2 separate regions of the Homo sapiens genome follow, and region 2 is linked to region 1. Evidence: promoter capture Hi-C in 16 types of primary human blood cells and fetal thymus (Javierre and others, 2016). All regions are on one chromosome and are shown on one strand. The core of a region is centred on a gene start or on the middle of the fragment in contact, and the rest is flanking DNA. Distances in the headings are between cores, read along the strand shown.

Evidence for each region. Contacts are between HindIII fragments. The CHiCAGO score rates a contact against its expected background, and 5 or more counts as called.
Region 2: a fragment that was not itself captured here is called in contact with the fragment with the promoter of PABPC5 in region 1 in 1 of 17 cell types (total CD4 T cells); the score reaches 6.8 in total CD4 T cells.

Annotation. Positions count from the first base shown.
Region 1 is chrX:91,433,220-91,436,383 of GRCh38, reverse strand. It overlaps PABPC5 (poly(A) binding protein cytoplasmic 5), which reads right to left and starts at 1,545. Exons shown (of 2, transcript NM_080832.3): 1 at 1,490-1,545; 2 at 1-949. The coding sequence starts at 806. It overlaps PABPC5-AS1 (PABPC5 antisense RNA 1), which reads left to right and starts at 1,385. Exons shown (of 4, transcript NR_110659.1): 1 at 1,385-1,481. The HindIII fragment of the contact is 4,445 bases long and covers 1-2,058 here.
Region 2 is chrX:91,370,459-91,373,622 of GRCh38, reverse strand. No RefSeq gene overlaps it. Among named protein-coding and RNA genes, the nearest start is that of PABPC5, 63 kb to the left of the region's middle. The HindIII fragment of the contact is 1,589 bases long and covers 953-2,541 here.

The sequences.
Region 1 (3,164 bases), core at 296-2,795:
AGGACTTTTCCATCGATGGACTTTCCATGCAAGTCTAGCACAGCCTTTTGGGCAGCCTCGTGTGTCTCATATCTCACAAATCCAAAGCCTTTAGATTTCCCACTGGCATCTCTTATTACTTTAACACTCTCAGTTGGCCCATATTCACAGAAAAGTTCCTTCAGTTTTTCGTCATCTATGTCGTCTCCAATGTTTTTAACGAAAACATTGGTGAAAGTTGCTCTATCCCTGGTTCTGACCTCAGCCGCCCGCTCTTCTGGGAATTTGAATCTGCCAACATACACCTGGCGGTTGTTGAGCCGCACTCCATTCATGTGCCAGATGGCTCTATTGGCAGCGGCCAGGCTGTCAAAGTGAACATAGGCATAACCCTTAGAGCCGTTGTCATCGCATACGACTTTGCAGGACAGAATGTTCCCAAAAGCAGAAAATAAGTAAAACAGGGCCCTATTGTCTATGGATTTGTCCAGGTTTTTGATGAATATATTTCCCACTCCAGACTTTCTTAAGCGGTCATCTGGCTGAGACCACATAAGGCGGAATGGTTTTCCATTAATCAAATCAAAATTCATGGTGTTCAAGGCCCACTCTGCATCCGCGGGAAAGCGGAAGTTAACATACCCATAGCCCAGGGGGCTGCGGGTCACCGGATCACGGCAGATTCGGGTGAATCGCAGAGGGCCAGCAGGCCTGAACTTCTTATAGAGCATGTCCTCGGTGACATCTGGGTCCAAGTCACCCACGTACAGAGCGGCCTTGAGATACTTCTTTTTCTTGCCAGCAGGATTAGGCTCCCCGCTCCCCATCTCTCTGAGCACTGGGAGGAGGTTCTCTTTGAAGAGAAAAAAGGCTGCTTTCTCTAAGCTATGGGCCAAACAGCTGTTCACGAACAGAAAAAGCCAAGGCAGGCAAAAGGAAGCTAAAAGCAGACTCAGAATCACTGTCGAGGCTGAGAAAATGAAGTTCAGAAACAGCTGGTCAGCAGGCTCAGAACAAACACATCAGACAAAAAGGCGCCCCAAATACGAATCTATTCTCCCTGCGGGGACTTAAAATTGTCACCCGTTCAGATTTAAAATCAGTTTCAAAAGCCAGTACCAGAAACGTAATTTTCCTGTCCCCGTGAAATTGTGAGAAGCCACCAAGCAGCTGGCTGGTTCCCCACAACTAGCATTGCAGACAGAGGCCTCCCGACCCGCTTTCTGCATAAATATAGGCCTAGAGCTCCTGTTGGTTTAAAATGATATCAACAAGGGCAGGGACCGAGCGCGTATTCCTCCGCCGGCTGCCTGGCCAGTCTCGGGCTGGCTAGCCTTTCGCTAAGGCCTCTCCGCACTCAGCGTCTGCGAAAGGGTACACCAGACACTTGGTGCGATAAGACCGGCAGGCAGGCTGCAGGCAGCGGATAGGACACAGAGACAGACAGACAGACACACGCGCGGGGGATCGAAGACCGCCCAGATACCCAAGATGCCCACTGGGTACGGACCGAGTGAGGCGCGGTGATTTCAGCAGCCTGAGGCTCGAGGCAGGTCCGGAGAGACTGACTGGCAAACGCGCAGTGAGTGGGTCAGCTCTGACGCGAGGCGGGTCTGGCCAGATGCGGGGCGGAGTCAGCGAAGAAGGGCAGATGCGCGGCGGGCGGTCCCAGCGCAGACCGATGGGCTGGGGTTTCTCTCCGCAGGACAGTCCAACGGAGGGACCAAGAGCCAGTAGCAGTGATAGGGAGGGGGGACAGGCGGGGCGCGAGAAACCCGGAACCGTGCTAAGTAACTTCCCGCTTCCTCTGTACCAAGATTTAAAAAAAAAGAGAGAGAGAGAAGGGGGGAGAGAGAGAGAGAGAGAGAGAGAGAGAGAGAAGGGGAGAGAATGAGAGAGAGAGAGAGAAGGAGAGAAAGAAAAATCTAAGATGGCTTTTAGATGTTTCTTATATTTTAAATGTTATTTATTATTTAAAACACTATATTTAAGCCGAACATCTAAAAATCACATAAGAAGATGACGACCTGGGCAAAAATAATAAGTTTTAAAAAACTAATTATCAAAATCATTTAAGCTTAGGGAAAAGGATAGGTTGCATACTTTCCTGAGTGCATTGGAAAGTCAAAGTTTACAAATGTCCTGGCCTCCCAATCCAGTGCTAAAGGATCACAGGGTCAAGTAGAACACAGGACCATGTTGCCTTTGGCCTTTAGCCTTACTTCATTAATCTCCAACATAATGGTAATATTTTCCTCAGGTGGTAGGCAAAGAGATCTTTTCTCTGATCCCATAATACTAAGGTTTTAATGATTGGAGAGCCATATAATGGCTTTTGATGGTGTTTAGTGCCACAAAACGTTGAAACTGTTGAGCTGCCGCGAGAATTACAGTTACAAAATCTCAGTTAAAGAGATAAAAGCCACAGAATCAATACAAAATATGTAATTAATATTTACAGATGAAATAAACATGTTAAGATATATGCACTTTACACAATTATGAATTTCATCATGAGTTGTCAACTTGAAACCCTTGAAGGAAACAGTGCCATCAGACTGGACTCAACTCAGCAGTTTCTCAACAATATCTCTCTTCAGAGTATTTGAGAAACCCTTTTGGAGAGAAATTTTGACCGTGTTTTCAGAAATTCACTGATATCTAGCATGCGCAAACAACACTTCAAGAGGCTCCTTCCACAATTCCTACCCCTCCAGAAAAATCCAAACAAAACATCTATCACTACTCTTAGGCTGGAAAAGATCCTGGGAAAAAAAGATTGCAAGAGAAGGACATTACCTTAGTGGGTGTTTTCCTAATAAGTCCTCAGAATAAGAGGCTAAATTAACGTATTCATTCACTTTATACATTTTATAGTGTCTATTAGACTGTAGAGTTGACATTAAACCTCATTATTTACTCAAAAACTTAGTAATTTTCTTTACTATTTTTTTTTTTTGCTTGCTTTCTAGTGTTCTTGGTTAACTAAGACATGGAGATTTTGAGAAAAGGCAAATATGAACAATGATATTATAGACTAATAAATGGGTTTTACAGTGTGACCAGAGTGACCAACATGTGGAAACACTTGTGAACATCTGCCTAGTTTATTGCATTTTGAATATATTTTTATAAACATATTTTCTTTTATGCGTAATTAACAATGGGTTAGAATTCTAGTCTGT
Region 2 (3,164 bases), core at 498-2,997, 63 kb after region 1:
TGTTAGGTTGCTTCCAAATTTTACCTGTTGTAAACAGTGCTGCAACAAATGTAGGAGTGCAGATATCTCTTTGATATACTTATTTCCTTTCTTTTGGTTATATATCCTGCAGCGGGATTGGTGGATCATATGATAGCTCCATTTATAGGTATTATTATAGGTATATTATGAAATTCTTGTAGTATGTTTTTCAGCTTTATCAGATCAGTTTAGTTTCTTTTTTTATAATGGCTATTTTGTCTATCGTATCATTTATCATTTTATTGTAATCATAGATTCCTTGGATAGGGTGTCAACTTTCTCCTGAATCTCAGTGATTTTTGTTCCTATCCATATTGTGTATTCTAGTTCTTTTTTTTTTTTCAGCCATTTCAGCCCATTTAAGAACCCTTGCTAGGGAACTAGTGCACTAATTTAGTGGAAAGAAACCACTGTGGCTTTTTCAGGTGCCAGATTTCTTTTTCTGGTTCTTTGTCATCTATGTAGGCTGTTGTTCTTTTACCTTTGGTGTAATTTGAGTACAGCCAGTAGACTTATTTTCTGGATGTTTTCAGAGGGTGAAGGCTTTGTGTGGGGTCTTTAATTTTAGCTGAATTTTTGTCCTTGTTTCACAGGGCCTATATTAGGAAAGTGCTTTTGGTGCTGAAGTTTTGATCTGTGATCCAATAGTTGGTGCTTATGTGTAATGGCAAGTAGGTAGCTTCTTGCTCATCCACGGGGTCCTCTGTGTTTCCTCATGATTTCAGTCATTCTCCCTCTCAGTGCTTTGAAAGTGTGGAATCTTCTCCCTCTTGAGTGCTGGCTGCAGATGTTGGCTTGGCACTCCAAGGCAGCATACCACAGGTCTGGAAGCAAGCTCGGGATTTATATTTCCTCTTCAGCATGGAGGCAGCAGGGGAAGGGAACTTAGCGATGGTTATGGCAGTGGGCCTTTCACTTGTCTCTGGAAGCTTCACATGACAAAGATGCAGGGCTGCTATCAATCAGTTCAGTCAGGCTGGAATGGGGCAGCTGTTCTGTGAGCCCAAACCAGGGAGCCCTGACTGGTAATGAGCAGGGGTTTGGGTGGGTCACTGGGGAGACAGACTGGCCTCTTAAGACAACTGCAGCTTTCTGGAGGTGCTGTTAACCTATCCAGAGTCCTCGACCCTTCTCTATTCCGAGGGCAGCAAGGACAGTACACCTGCAGTGGCAGTGGGAAAGGGGCTTTCAGTTGCCTCTGGGGGCTACACCTCAGAGAAACTTGGAGTTGCCACTACTGCGAATGTTCAGCCAAGGGTTGTGGTGGCCACACTGCTGGCCTGAGCTGATGGCTCTGCTTGTTGAGGAGCAGGGGTTCAGTGGCTTACAGGGAGGTGAAACTGAGTTCCTCTTTATATGGTGACTGGGTGTGTGGTGTGTGGGTGAGGTCTTCAGGATCTTTATTTCCTCACCTGACCAAGGGCAGCAGGGGCAGAATCACTGCTGTTGCAGTGGCAGAGGGGCTGTCAGTTACCTGTGGGAGCCCCTTCCCAGGGAAACCCAAAGCCACTACCAGTGGTTGTGCTCAGCCGTGGGTTAGATGGCTGATCTGTATTCCTGAGCCAGGGGCGCTGTCTGTTGATGAGTGGGAGATGGGGGCTCACAGAGAAGAGGGACTGGATTTGTTTCTGTGTGGTGACTGTGGTGTGCTGGATGTGTCAAGTTAGTGACTAGTCCCTTTGTTCCTTCCACAGCCCTACGGCATCAGGGTGGCACTACTGCAGTTGCAATGGTGAAATGGTTGTGGGTAGTCTCTGAGATTTCCTCCTCACAGAACTGCAGAGCCACCTCCAAAGTAAGTGTTCAGGTAGGGGCAGGGTAGTCGTGTTCTTTATTATGTTAAACATACCTACCTTGCCTTTGGCAGTTTGGTGCTGCCACTTGCCTCCTGCCACACTGCTATCCAATTACTTCCATTGCATCTAAGTTTCCCAATTCAGTTACTGCATTATCCTCTGTAAGATCTGGCCTACAGAGAAGAGTGATCAAAATTCTTCAGGGATCCTGGGACTTCCTGTAATCGATTTATTTTTTCTCAGTTTTGGTGAAAGGTACATCTCCTGGACCGTCCCAGTGTGAATAATTAAGTCTTAATATTAGAGTAGACAAATCTACTCTAATATTCCAGACTCTCTAAGCCTTTAAATACTTTTCTCTACATTGAGCCGAAGCAGGTGGACAATTTCCAATTCACTCACTTTGAGCCTCCTTTGGGTTCATATTTTGGGCAACCAACCAAACAAACGCAAATCATATCACAATGGAATTAAACTAGAAAAAGTAACTGAAAGATAGCTAGAAAATTTTTTAGAATTATAAATTAAACAATAAACTTCTAAATAGCAGATTGGTCGAAGAAGTCTCAAGAGAAATTTTAAAAATATTTTGAACTGAATGAAAATGAAAACACAACTTATTAAAATATGTGAGATTCAGTGATAGCAATGATTAACACAAAACTTATAGCATTGAATTCGTATATTAGAAAAAAAGAAAAACCTAAAATGAATGGTATAAGCTTCCTTTTCAGGATACTGTAGAAAGAAAAACAACATAAACTGAAAGCAAAGAGAAGAAAAAAGTAAAATTTAGAGTAGAATTCAATGAAATTGAAACAAGAAAACAGTAAAGAAAAATAATAAAATCAAAAGCTGGTTCTTTCAGAAGATCAATAAAATTGATAAACCTCTAGCTAGGCTAATCAAGAAAAAATAGAGGAAATACAAATTAGTATTAACCTCTGAAATGATAAACGCTCCATCATTACTGACTCCAATGAACATTAAAAGGGCAGTAAATGAATATTATTAATAACTGCACACTTAAAAATTTGATGATTTAGATTTAATTTTAAAAATTCCTTGAAAGTTACAATCTATACAGCTAGCACAAAAGGAAAAAGATAATCTATATATTCCTTTATTAAAGAAATTACATCACTAATTAATAACTCTCTAAAACAGAAAGCACCAGACCAGATGAGTTTACTGTAGAACTCTACCAACCATTTAAGGATGAAATTGTGCCAATTCCCTGTAATCTTGTCCAGAAGATGGAAACTGAGGGAACACTTTCTAACTCATTGTGAGTTCAGAATAAAACCAGATAAAAGCATTACAAGAGAGAAAAACTACAGATCAGTG